Regions from separate parts of the Homo sapiens genome. Here all the other regions are linked to region 1. Evidence: promoter capture Hi-C in 16 types of primary human blood cells and fetal thymus (Javierre and others, 2016). All regions are on one chromosome and are shown on one strand. The core of a region is centred on a gene start or on the middle of the fragment in contact, and the rest is flanking DNA. Distances in the headings are between cores, read along the strand shown.

Evidence for each region. The method cuts DNA at HindIII sites, captures the fragments that hold promoters and counts their contacts. A CHiCAGO score of 5 or more calls a contact.
Region 2: a fragment that was not itself captured here is called in contact with the fragment with the promoter of EMX1 in region 1 in 2 of 17 cell types (fetal thymus and total B cells); the score reaches 6.3 in fetal thymus.
Region 3: a fragment that was not itself captured here is called in contact with the fragment with the promoter of EMX1 in region 1 in 1 of 17 cell types (endothelial precursors); the score reaches 7.1 in endothelial precursors.
Region 4: a fragment that was not itself captured here is called in contact with the fragment with the promoter of EMX1 in region 1 in 10 of 17 cell types (endothelial precursors, megakaryocytes, naive CD8 T cells and 7 more); the score reaches 10.0 in endothelial precursors.

The regions. Positions count from the first base shown.
Region 1 is chr2:72,916,138-72,919,137 of GRCh38, forward strand. EMX1 (empty spiracles homeobox 1) reads left to right here and starts at 1,382. Exons shown (of 3, transcript NM_004097.3): 1 at 1,382-2,235. The coding sequence starts at 1,716. RefSeq lists silencers at 1-37, 1,178-1,597, 1,668-1,787 and enhancers at 129-746, 747-1,363. The HindIII fragment of the contact is 6,474 bases long and covers 1-3,000 here.
Region 2 is chr2:73,290,540-73,293,539 of GRCh38, forward strand. It overlaps EGR4 (early growth response 4), which reads right to left. Exons shown (of 2, transcript NM_001965.4): 1 at 2,643-3,000; 2 at 390-2,242. The coding sequence starts at 2,778. The coding sequence ends at 918. Among named protein-coding and RNA genes, the nearest start is that of EGR4, 1.5 kb to the right of the region's middle. RefSeq lists an enhancer at 600-1,295. The HindIII fragment of the contact is 2,133 bases long and covers 392-2,524 here.
Region 3 is chr2:73,210,052-73,213,051 of GRCh38, forward strand. It overlaps NOTO (notochord homeobox), which reads left to right. Exons shown (of 3, transcript NM_001134462.2): 3 at 720-2,462. The coding sequence ends at 878. Among named protein-coding and RNA genes, the nearest start is that of SMYD5, 2.7 kb to the right of the region's middle. RefSeq lists a silencer at 2,658-2,727. The HindIII fragment of the contact is 2,592 bases long and covers 227-2,818 here.
Region 4 is chr2:73,190,786-73,193,785 of GRCh38, forward strand. No RefSeq gene overlaps it. Among named protein-coding and RNA genes, the nearest start is that of NOTO, 10 kb to the right of the region's middle. The HindIII fragment of the contact is 316 bases long and covers 1,389-1,704 here.

The sequences.
Region 1 (3,000 bases), core at 132-2,631:
AGTCGAGTGGAAAATAGACTTTAACCCGCTTTGTGGCGGCCGGGGCGCCCTGAGCGCTCTCCAAACCACGGCTCCCGGCGCTCAGGCGGGCCGCTGCCAAGACCCGGCCTGGAGTCCCCGCAGAGTTGCGCGGCGCACGGACCCCGTGGCCTTGGGGCGTCAGGAGGCCCAACCCAGATCTGCGCGCCCAGGCAGCGCTCAGGCCGCTAGAATGGACCCCGGCAGCGGCGAGGAAGCGGAACTCTCTGCGGCTCCCTCTCCGCAGTGCGCCGGCAAGGTCCAGGTCCCAGCCTCCCCACCGCCGCCCGCGCCCTCCTAGGCCTCGGAGCGGCGCCTTTCTGCGGCCTCGAAGGTGGGGTGGGAAAGTTTGGGGAGTCCCGGCTCTCACAGCCTGTCGTGAGAACTGCCCCCGGGGAATTCGTCCGCCGTACGGAAAAACTGGCCGGAGCAGAGTCGTCCGCGGTTCCGCGGTCGCGGGTGGAAGGTGAAGGTCGAGGGAGGTCAGGCTGCTTCTGCGTGTCCTGACGGCTGGCGTGTTCTCTTGAGATGGGCTCGGGCTACTTGGCCAGCTTCAATTTAAGCCACAGTGTCTCCGAGGCCCTGACCTGGTCCGGCCCGCCGACACTTGAGCCCCCAGAGCCTCAGAGAAGGCGAGGGGGTGGATCTCCCAGTGCCGAGGCCCGCCGTCCTGGTCCAAGCCGGTCGCGGCACCGTGTCTGGGCACTGGAGCTGCTTCCAGCCCCGCGAACAGCTGGAGGGTGGCAGTGGGACCGCTCCGGCGGCTTCTCCCGCGCAGTGCCCCGCCTGGCCCCTTGTGAAGGGAGTGAGCGTCCCCTTTCCAGAGCTGTCCCCCGTGACATCCAGAAAACGCGAAACCTCAGGAACAAGGTCGCAGCTTCAGACCGCGGCCCAGGAGGCCGATGGTGGGTGAGTGGGAGAGTCCCGGAGAGCAGGGGGGCAGAGAGCTGGTTTTCGGGAAAACCAATGTGTTGGACCCCAAACATCCACCCTCCGCTCGGATCCAAGTTCTCTGAGAACTGAAACGACATCCCGGGACGAATGGGAGAGTTAGGCTGAGCTACACACCGGGGAGGGGAGGGTTGGAGTTTAGCCCCAAGCCCTTCGGACGCCTTCTTCGGCTCCCGCGTGGGTTGAGACGGCGGCACGGCCACCAGACTCAGCTAAAGGGCGGAGTCGCGAGGAGAAGCCAGTGGCGAGGGGAGGAGGAGGCCTGGATCTCCCCGCGAAGGCTCCAGTCCGGCTTTTGCCTCCGACTGCGGGCTCCCTCCCCACCCGCCGTCCCTCGCCCCGCCCCGCCCCGCCCCCCACCTTGGGGCAGGTGAGCGGCGGCCAATGGGCGAGCGCGGGGCAGGTGCCCGCTAACTCGCGCCTCGCAGCGCTGGGCGGCCGGGGCTGGGCAGGGCAGTGCGGGGACACCGGGGGCTGGGGTCGGTCCCAGCGGGACTCCGAAAGGAGGGAGACGAGCTCAACCCTCGGGCCTTACTGGCAGCTCGCAGCCTAGCACGGAGCCCGCGCCTGTGCGGGCGCCTGGAGCTGCCCGCTCCGCCGCAGCAGCCGCCGCGCCTGGCCGTACGCTGTGGCCGGACCCCGCGGTCGCTCGCTCACACACCCCTCGCCGCTCCGCGCCTGGCTCGCCCGCGGGGGCCGAGCGCGAGCGGGCGGGCGGGGGAGGTGAGGGGTGCGGGCGGGTGTGCATGTGCCTGGCTGGGTGCACACCCCGCAAGGCGGCGGCGCCAGGACGCGGAGCGCTCCCCAGAGCCCGGCTGCCTCGCACAGCTCCCGCGGCTGCGACCATGTTCCAGCCCGCGGCCAAGCGCGGCTTTACCATAGAGTCCTTGGTGGCCAAGGACGGCGGCACCGGCGGGGGCACTGGCGGCGGGGGCGCGGGCTCCCATCTCCTGGCGGCGGCCGCCTCCGAGGAACCGCTCCGGCCCACGGCGCTCAACTACCCTCACCCCAGCGCGGCCGAGGCGGCCTTCGTGAGTGGCTTCCCTGCCGCGGCCGCCGCGGGCGCGGGCCGCTCGCTCTACGGTGGGCCCGAGCTCGTGTTCCCCGAGGCCATGAACCACCCCGCGCTGACCGTGCATCCGGCGCACCAGCTGGGCGCCTCCCCGCTGCAGCCCCCGCACTCCTTCTTCGGCGCCCAGCACCGGGACCCTCTCCATTTCTACCCCTGGGTCCTGCGGAACCGCTTCTTCGGCCACCGCTTCCAGGGTGAGTGTCCACGCTGTGCCCGCCGAGGCGGCCGGCCGGCGCCCGTGCTGCGGCGATGCGGGGGAGGCTCGGGGGCGCGCGGGGCTGTTTAGAAGTTACTGCCGGGAAGGCTGCAGGTCCGCGGAGGTAGATTCCCAGGCAGGGAAGAGCTGTGCGGCATCCACCCGCGCCTTCGCCGCGTAGGTCTCCCTCCCAGGAAAGCAGGTGGAGACCTCCAGGCTTTTCTAGAAAATATACCAGTTCGGACGCAAGCCCAGGCGCGTCCTCGGAGCCTGTGCTGGCCCTCGCCACAGCCTGCCCAATTCTCTCTCCCAGCTGAGCCAGTCTCAGACCAGAGTACAACTCCTCCCGCTCTCCCTCCGCCCGGCTTAACCTCGCACCACGCTTCTCTCGCAAGTCCACCACCACCTCCGAGACCTCAGCCTTCGCTGGCGCGTCCGGGCGGGGGAAAGTCCATTCGCGTGCCCCAGCTCTGGGGGAAGCAAGGGCAGCAGGGAGGGCGAATCGGAGAGTTAATGTTCAGTGTGGAGGGCCTGGCTGTCTTGGGATGTTTCTCGGCAACCTTGGCCCGACTTCTCCAAGTCACACGTGCCTCTCCTACCCAAGGTGGGGAAGGTTTGCAGTAAGCAAACTGGCTTCCGCCGTTGCTCGCCGCCTTCGGGAGGGAGCCCACCCGGCTGCTGGAATACCGAGGACAGTTTTCCCGGGCAGGGGGCGGGGGCAGAGGGCTTTTAAGGTCGTAGCCAGTCCGAACCCCGGAGTTTG
Region 2 (3,000 bases), core at 208-2,707, 370 kb after region 1:
CCTGGGTTAACTACATTGTTCCAGCAAGCTATCTACATTGCTTCCACATCTTTGAAATGAGGTATATGCCTGCTTTATTTGGGAATGCGAGGATTAAGGAGAATAATATATACATAATGTTGAACACCTACGCCTTTTAACCACTTTGAAGTTCCAGAAACACCTCCAGCCCTTAGGTGAGCTGTGATTAAATTCGTTCATTAACCCAACACACATTTACTGAATGCCTACTCTGTGCCGCAGTTCCTGGCAGGTGTGCCTGACAGTGGGTGTGTAATATGTTCAGGGTCTGTATCCCATGAGCGTGGGGATCTCCTTTATCTTCTGGCACATATGGTCCTGGGGGAGAAGCTAAGGGGAAGGGTCAGGAGCTTACATGGCAGATTCAGTAAGCTTTTAGCACAATAATTTTAATTGCAAAAATAAACAGTTTTGTCAACTGCTTGAGAGTAGCGTCTGCTTTACAAAAATTAACAACAACAAAAGGAAAAAAAACCCAAAGCAAAACGTTACATCCAATGGCTGCTGGATAAGACACTGCTGTACAAAGTCCCGCGCGAGACCGCCTTGGCGCTGCCCCAGCCTGTCTCTGGGGGTTATAGAGGAAGGCGTGGGGCGTGTGCCAGTTACAAAAGACTGTCTTGAATCCCAGGGTAGTGCCTATTCACTGGGTGGTCTCAGAAGACTTCCCCCAAAGCGCGGCTGACAAGGGTGACAGCGCCTGGACCGCGGGAACTGTCCGCGGAGCTGGTGCTGAATAGGGCGTGTGCGGCGGGCGCTTCAAGGAAACTGGAAGCGGGACCGGAGGCCGGCCCTCGGGCGTGCGAGGAGGAGTTGGAAGAAGAGCGGGGAGGGGAACGGCCCGGAACTCGTGCGCGCCGAACGGCGGCGCCCCAACCCATAAACCCATCTCTTGCTCAGAGAGAAGCGAAGGAGAGGCCCAGCGAGTAAAAGCCGAGGCCCTTGAGCCGCTCCTCGGCGCGCGCCTTCTGCTTGAGGTGCACCTTGCTGTGCCGTTTCTTCTCATCGCTGCGCGCGAAGCGGCGGCCGCACACGTCGCAAGCAAAAGGCTTCTCGCCGGTGTGGGTGCGCACGTGCGTGGTGAGGTGGTCGCTGCGGCTGAAGTTGCGGAGGCAGATGCGGCACTGGAAGGGTTTGTGGCCCGTGTGGATGCGCAGGTGGCGATTGAGCTCGTCGGAGCGCGCAAAGCTCCGCACACAACTCTCCACCGGGCAAGCGAAGGCCTTGGCGTGCGGCCGCGGGCAGAAGCAGCGCGTGCTGCATTTGCCGCCGCGGCGCCCCTTGCGTCGCGCCTTGGCCTGGGGGAAAGGGGTGGGCGGCGGCGGCGGCACGGGTGGTGCAGCCACGCCACTGCTTCCAGGGATGTCCGCCACCAGAGGTTTAGGGAAGTCCGCCGCGGCGGCGCTGCGAAGGCCCAGCGGGGAAAGCTGAGGCTGCGTACTGGCCAGAAACTCTCCGCCGTCGCCGCTACTCCCTCCCTCCCCACTAGGAGGGGTCAGGAGCCCAGGGAGGCCCTCAGCCCCCTCCCCTAAGTCACCCGGGGCCAGCGGGAAAGCGTCATAGGCCCCGCTGGGATAGAGTCTGTTGGCTGGGACGGCCGGCAGTTCCGCAGGGCAGCTGATGGACAGCAAGTCCTCAATCTTGGTCCCTATTACGGGAAAACGAGCCTCCGGGGCGGCCTGGTAGTCTCCCTGTGACCCACAGTTCCCTGGGGCCCCCACAGAAAGCAGCTCCCAGGGCGCGTAGGGACCCTTGAAGGCAGAGACAGCGTCCAGCGCTGGCGAGGCGGGAGGCGCCCGGAGGCCGGGCTTGACGTCGGGCGGGGAGAGCTGAGGCTCATACAGGCACTGCGAGGGGGCACCCGCGCAAGGCGAGGCCTCCCAGAACGCCTCTGGGAAAGGGGCAGCGCCCAGATCCGGGGAGTAAAGGTCCGGCGGACCCGGCAGCAAGGCATCGGACCCCGCAGGAAAAGGGGCATCCAGCGGGGATCTGGACGCTGCTGCCTCTGGACCGGGGAAGGGTGCCAGGCCTAAGATGCCCGACATGAGGTTGAAGAGTGCCTCCGGGTCGTGCGGGTGTTCGGGCACTGCCTGAATGAAGAAGCTACCGCTGTAGCTGAGGCCGGGAGGGGGTGTGGGCGCAGGCCCCTCCAGGAAGCAGGAGTCGGCTAAGTCCCCACTTGCGCCGCAGCTGTTCAAAGCCCAGCTCAAGAAGTCGCCTGCTGAGGAGGGAGCAGGAATCAGCTCTGGGCACATCAAAGGGTGCACCTGAGTCCACAGCCCCTACCTACAAAACTCTTGGTGCCCACGGATATACACAAAGTGCCTTTTGCACATTCTGATTCAGCAGGGGCCCGCATACGTCCCAAGGAGCACATAGAAACATGCACACGCAAAACACACGTGCACAGGCAAAAGGGCGCTCCGATAACCGCACAGGTTCCTGCGGAGGCGCTGGCGGCCCAGTGTGGGTGGGAATGGGGGTGCGCACCCCAGGACTCCTAAGCTTCCCATCGCCCCTATTCTCATAGCTCCAATGTCCCAGTCCCTCCTGGTTCTCAGGTATGGTGCGCCCCCGCGCTGCGCCGTCGTCGTCTGAGCACCCCTGCTCGCCCTCCTTACCTCCAGGGTAGCCGGTGGCCGCGGGAGCGTCCCTGGCAGGCAGCCGGGGCAATTCAGCGCTGGGTTCGGCGCAACAGCCTTCAGTGGACTTGACGAGGAGCGCGTCGGGTTCGGAAAACTCGCTAAGGTGGAGCATGGCGCGGCGCCGGCTGTGGGGCGCCCGGGGCCTCGCCCGCTGGGCTTGGGGGCGCGCGGGTGGCGGGGAGGCTGGCGGTAGGGGTTCCCCGCAGCGCACAGACCTAGGCGCCCGGGCTCCTGGCTTCGGGCACTCACCTCTGGGAAAGGAGTCGGGGAGCCGCGGCGCCCTCGCTCGCCCGCACCGGCCTCGGGCGGCGGCTCCTCGCCTCTCCAAAGCGCT
Region 3 (3,000 bases), core at 273-2,772, 290 kb after region 1:
TTCTGCTGCCATCCATGCTTCACACAGCAGCTAGGTGCACAGTGCACTTCAGATGTAAATAGGATTATGTGGGCCCACGTAAAAGCCTCATGGGTGACATTCCTTATCTATGGCCTTCCAGGTCCTGGGTGATCTGGCACCCGCTGACCTCTCCCATTTCCCTCCCTTGACTTTCTCCTCTCACTGTCATCCGTGCTCTCCTCCTTCCTGGTCCTCAAACACTCCAAGCTTGGTTCCATTTCAGAGCCTTCCTACAGGTTGTTCCCTGCCCTGCAGACCTGCTCTTCTCTGTCCCCATCAGGTGGGCCTCTCTCTCTTTGAGCCTCAGCTTTAATGCTGGCTCCTTAGGGAGGCCTCCTCTGCCCAAACCCCTGTTTGTACCCCCTTTTGTGTTTACATAGCTCTTTGTTTGTTTACATGTTTCTTGCCAGTGTTTCTTCACTAGCTCATGAGCTCCACGAGGGCAGGCAGCTTGCCTCTGTTGCTCACCACTGTATCAGCATCACCTAGGATGGTGCTTAGCACATACTGGAAACTCAGTAAATACTCAGATGAATGAATGGTGTCTGGAATTGTAGAAAGGGGTGTTTTGGAGGAGGTACCTCCCTGAGAAGGAAGAGCAAATATTGGCCAGGCAGAGAGGGGTGTTCACTCCAGGAATTAGGAAGCAGTGGGACCTGATGGTCACATTCTGATCTCTGCCCACTCTCCAATTATAGGTGAGAGTCTGGTTCCAGAACCGCAGGGTCAAGTATCAGAAGCAGCAAAAGCTGAGGGCAGCAGTTACATCTGCCGAGGCTGCCTCCCTGGATGAGCCTTCCAGCAGCTCCATCGCCAGTATCCAGAGTGATGATGCCGAGTCAGGAGTGGACGGCTGAAGACTGGGACAGAGGCCCTAGCCAGGCTGCCTGGACTAGTTCCTCCTGGGGGTACCCACTGGAGCTCCCTGCCTCACACCTCAACGAAAAGCCTCCTCAACCAGAAGAATCTGAGCTGTCAAGCAGGGACCCCCTTTTCTATACTGATTCCTGGAAACTGGAATAATGTAATGATTGGAGGCACAGACTCTGGCCTTCAGCTATGTCCTTGGCCAACCTATGGAACTTCCGAGCCTTTTTTCTTTATCTGTATAATGGGTGCATTCATAACTTAGATCACCCAGGGGTGAGAAGATGTCTGTAAAGCAATAATGTGCCATGCACAGTGCAAAGTGTGTGGTTACTGTTAAGGCTTGTAGGCCCCTGAGTAGAGAAGACCAACTGGAAAAAAAAAAGTTTTTTTCTTCTGCTGTCACCCCACAACAATCAACACAGAACACTTCTGTGACCAAACGTATAGGGGTGTACCCCACATTCCAACCTCCAGTTCAGCAAATTCTGACATGATCTACCTGCAGGTAGTGTCTGACCCCACAGATTCAGGGCTCATTCCACATGGCAGCCCCTCCTTTCTTTTTTTTTTGAGACAGACTGCAGTGGCGCGATCTTGGCTCACCGCCACCTCCGCCTCCCGGGTTCAAGCGATTCTCCTGCCTCAGCCTCCCGAGCAGCTGGGACTATAGGCGCATGCCACCATGCCTGGCTAATTTTTATATTTTTAGTAGAGACGGGGTTTCATCATATGGTCAGGCTGGTCTTGAACTGCTGACCTTGTGATCCACCCACCTCGGCCTCCCAAAGTGCTGGGATTACATGTGTGAGCCACCACCCGGCCCAACCCTGCCCTTTTTGTTTTTTATGGAGTCTTAAGGTCTACCAGTCATCAGTCAACTCATTAGCATATGAAAAGACATCACTTCAGAGATTCTAGGGATTTTAGGAGTTCTATGCCAGGAAATCGAGATGAAGACCAAATATATATTTCATAATATCACAGCTCCCCTCACCTGGGGGAGTAATACCTGTACCAGCAATTAATATTTTCCTGGCCTGGCTGTGGAGAAGGAACCTCTTTGAATAAGCATCTGGGCATAGAAGACTCTTCACCATCAGAAGGAGTTGAGAGCAAAGAAGAGAAGGTAGACTGTTTAGCCCACTTCACAAAGTTTCCCAACGTTTTCTTGTTTTGTCTGAACTGTTACCATTCTCAGAAGAAGCTCAGGCCCAGCAGCAAAGACAAGGACTCGCTCTGTCACCCAGACTGGAGTGCAGTGGTGCAATCATAGCTCACGGCAGCCTCAACCTCCTGGGCTCTAGTGATCCTCCCACCTTAGCCTCCTAAGCAGCTGGGACTACAGGCGCGTGACACCACGCCTGGCTAATTTTTAACATTTTTTGTAGAGACAACGTCCACTTGTTGCCCAGGCTGGTCTTGAATTCCAGGCTTCAAGTGGTTCTCCTGCCTTGGCCTCCCAAAGCCCCATCTTTTTATAGAATAATTTGTGTATGCCAAGGCTGGCATTTTGTCATAAACTCTGCTGTGTTTTCACAGGACAGTTATAATTTCCCCCTTTCATGACTCTGACTCATGGCTCCTTTTTCTTCTCAAGAATGTGCTCGATTTCTCTGAAAGAAGCCTGCTGCCAGGATTTGCAGAGCTGATTTCTGTAGCACAGACCATTCAGATTCTAGAATGGCTCTTGGGGACTGAGCTGAGGGATGGAAGGAAGCCTGCCCTGCCACCTGGTGGTGAGTGAGGGCACGGCCCCCAGCTGCTCTCGGGTAGGTTTGCCCCCAAGTACGTGGACTATTCGCTCCCTGACACCGGGCTGCAGGCTTGAGGGGACCCAGGGTCGGTTTCAAGAGCCTCTTCTCTGGCCCTGCCAACTATCTATCTCCCCCAAGTCCGTGGACTATTCGCTCCTTGACACCAGGTTGCAAGCTTGAGGAGAGGCAGGGTCAGTTTCAAGAACCTTTCTCTGTCCCTGCCAACTATCTATCTATCTATAATTATTTGATAGATAATTGTGGCTTGATCACGGCTCATTGCAGTCTAGACCTCCCCAGGTTCAGGTGATCCTCCCACGCATCACCACGCCCGGCAAATTTTTCTATTTTTTGG
Region 4 (3,000 bases), core at 297-2,796, 270 kb after region 1:
GAGAAAGAGAGAAGGAGAGCAGGAGGGAGGGAAGGAAGGAAGGAAGGAAGGAAGGAAGGAAGGAAGGAAGGAAGGAAAAAAAAGAACGAAAGAAAGAAGGAAGGAAGGAAGGAAAGAAAGAAAGGGCTTTGACTAGTTTGCTGCTAAAGTCCCAACCAGCTGTATAAAGTGCTCCAAGTGAATAGAAAACATACTTATCTCACTGCACAAGGGTTATTTGCCCTGGCTGTCAACCTTCCTCTCTGACTAATCCTTCTTCTTCTGTCCTTGCTGTCCCTAAACATAGCAGTCCCCAAGGGATCCATACAAGCCCCTTTCTCTTTTACTACAGCATTTTCTCTCCGTGTGATCTCACCCACTCTCATCCCTTGATAGACTTCCCTCTCTTCAGATGCCTCTGCAGAGGAAAGTGTCCTCCACAGAGCCCTCCTGGACCTATGAAGTTATTACTTTATCTATTTATTTATTTATTTATTTATTTATTTATTTTTGAGACGGAGTCTCACCTGTGGCCCAGGCTGGAGTGCAATGGCACGATCTCGGCTCACTGCAACCTCCGCCTCCTGGGTTCAAGCAATTCTCCTGCCTCAGCCTCCTGAGTGGCTGGGATTACAGGCATGCACCACCATGCCTGGCTAATTTTGTATTTTTAGTAGAGACAGGGTTTCACTATGTTGGCCAGGCTGGTCTTGAACTCCAGACCTCAGGTGATCTGCCTGCCTCGGCCTCCCAAAGTGTGGGGATTACAGGCATAAATCACTGCACCTGGCCTATGAAGTTATTACTAATCTCTCCATCCTTTGTACTCCCATAGAATCCATCCCTTTGGTTTGGCAGTTGCATTAGCTAGTTGTGGATGAGTCTCTCTGTCCCCTCCCTCCACCCTCACCGTAAGACTCTGAGCTCCCATTGGGCAGGAATTGTATATTTCATTGCACTTTGTACCCCTCATAAAACCCAACACAGAATAGGCCTCAAACAAGTAAATGTTTGTCGACTTCAGTCTAATTGAAGGGCATAGAATTTCAGAGAAAATCTTAAAGGCAGCATACATAAGAAAAAGTTAGGAAACACTAGGTAACTGCAAAGTGCAATGTGTTAGCTGTGCATTCCAGGGAGGGAGGAACAAACAACCAACCTTGTTTGCTCTTGGCCTGTCAGGTGCAGGGGAAGCAGGAGGGGCAGGGGAGGGGAGAGCAGGTGTGGGCTGGAGCTGAGACAGCCCAGGCAGGGGGTAGGGGGAGGTGGTATGGGGCCTCCCCAAGGCAGCTCTGGGGCCCTCTGACCCTGCAAGCTGGGCTTGACTTAGGGCACGTTGCATGGCAGCCCTCCATCCAGGTCCAACAAACTCCATCATCACCATTTAGCACCTTTCTTCTGCATGAAAAAGCTTCCCTTTGGAAAGACAAGGAAGAAGAAAAGAGAGAGAAAGAGAAAGGAAGGAATAGAGGGAAGGACAAAGAGAGGGGAGGGAAAAGAGAGAGAGAGAAAGAAAGAAAGAGAGATGAAGACCCTGCAAAAGGAGAGTGAAAAAGGAGAAAAGGGACAAGGATTCACAGGGTGTTGGGAAAGGGCAGCAAAGGGGCTTCCTAACACATCTTCCCCAGTGACTCTGAGATCTCAACCAGTGCTCAAAACGTTCTTCTTCCCTCAATCCAGAGAAGGAAACTCATTCTCTACTTAAGTGAGATAACCCAAGTGCAAAGCTTAAGTGATCTGTAAATATTACCCATTATTATTATTACCATTTTTCCCTCCTTCTCCTCCTTGCTACCCAGCTCACTTGCATATTAATGGGTTTAGACAAAAAAAAGGAAGGAAAATCCTTTAGTGGGGAAAGAGGGTTGGGAAGTGGGGAAGAATTTGGCTGGAGGACAGCTCGAGAGCTCCTGGACAAATTTATTTGTTCTTTTTAAATATTTTTATTTTAGTTTGGCCAACTGAGTCCCTGGCATGGACTAGGCCCTGAGGATACAGCAGGTCACAAGGGCCATGTGAATTTTTACAGTGTCTTAGAAATCAATAAGGTAATATCAATTACAATTTAAAAATATAAACTCTTACAGGTTTCTGTCCATTAATACTATTCAGGGATCTTTTTGTATAGAAATAAAAGAGCCAGTACACAATATATATTTAAAATAATGTTTCTTACCAGTTCTGTTTGTAGGGCAGAAGCAGAAAACAACCTGAATGCCTTTCAACAGAAGAAAGGTTGAATAAATTGTGGCACACCCATACTGTGGAACATTAAGCAGACACTAAAAAGAATGAGTTAGGTCTAAACTGGGTAGCTTGGAGGAATTTCCACAATTAAGTGAGAAAAAGAAAACTGATTGTTCAAGGTTGAGCGCCAAAATTAATTTCATCAGAAAATCCTGGATTGCTTCTAGGCACTGGAGATCTAGGGAATGCTTAAGTTGCCTCCAGGCTTTTGCTACTATAAAAGGTGCTACAATGTACATCCTTATACAGGAATCTTTGAAAAGGAATCTTTTGACATTTTAGTAGCTATTGCAAATTATTCTCCTGGCTGGGCTCAGCGGCTCACTCCTGTGATCCCAGCACTTTGGGAGGCTGAGGCAGGCGAATCGCTTGAGCCCAGGAGTTCAAGACTACGCTGGGTAACATAGTGAGGCCCCATCTCTATTAAAAAAAAAAAAAATCCCAGCACTTTGGGAGGCCAAGGCAGGCGAATCACTTGAGCTCAGGAGTTTGAGAACAGCCTGGGCAACATGGCAAGACCCCATCTCTACTAAAACTATAAAAAAATAGCTGGGCACAGTGGCACGTGCCTGTGGTCCCAGCTACTCAGGAGGCAGAGGTAGGAGGATGGCTTCAGCCCAGAGGGTGGAGGTTGCAGTGAGCTGAGATCACCCACTGCACTCCAGCCTGGGTGTCAGGGCAAGACCCTGTCTCCAACAACAACAACAACAACAACAAAAAGAAAGAAAGAAAGAAAGAAAGAAAGAAAGAAAGAAAGAAAGAAAGAAAGAAAGA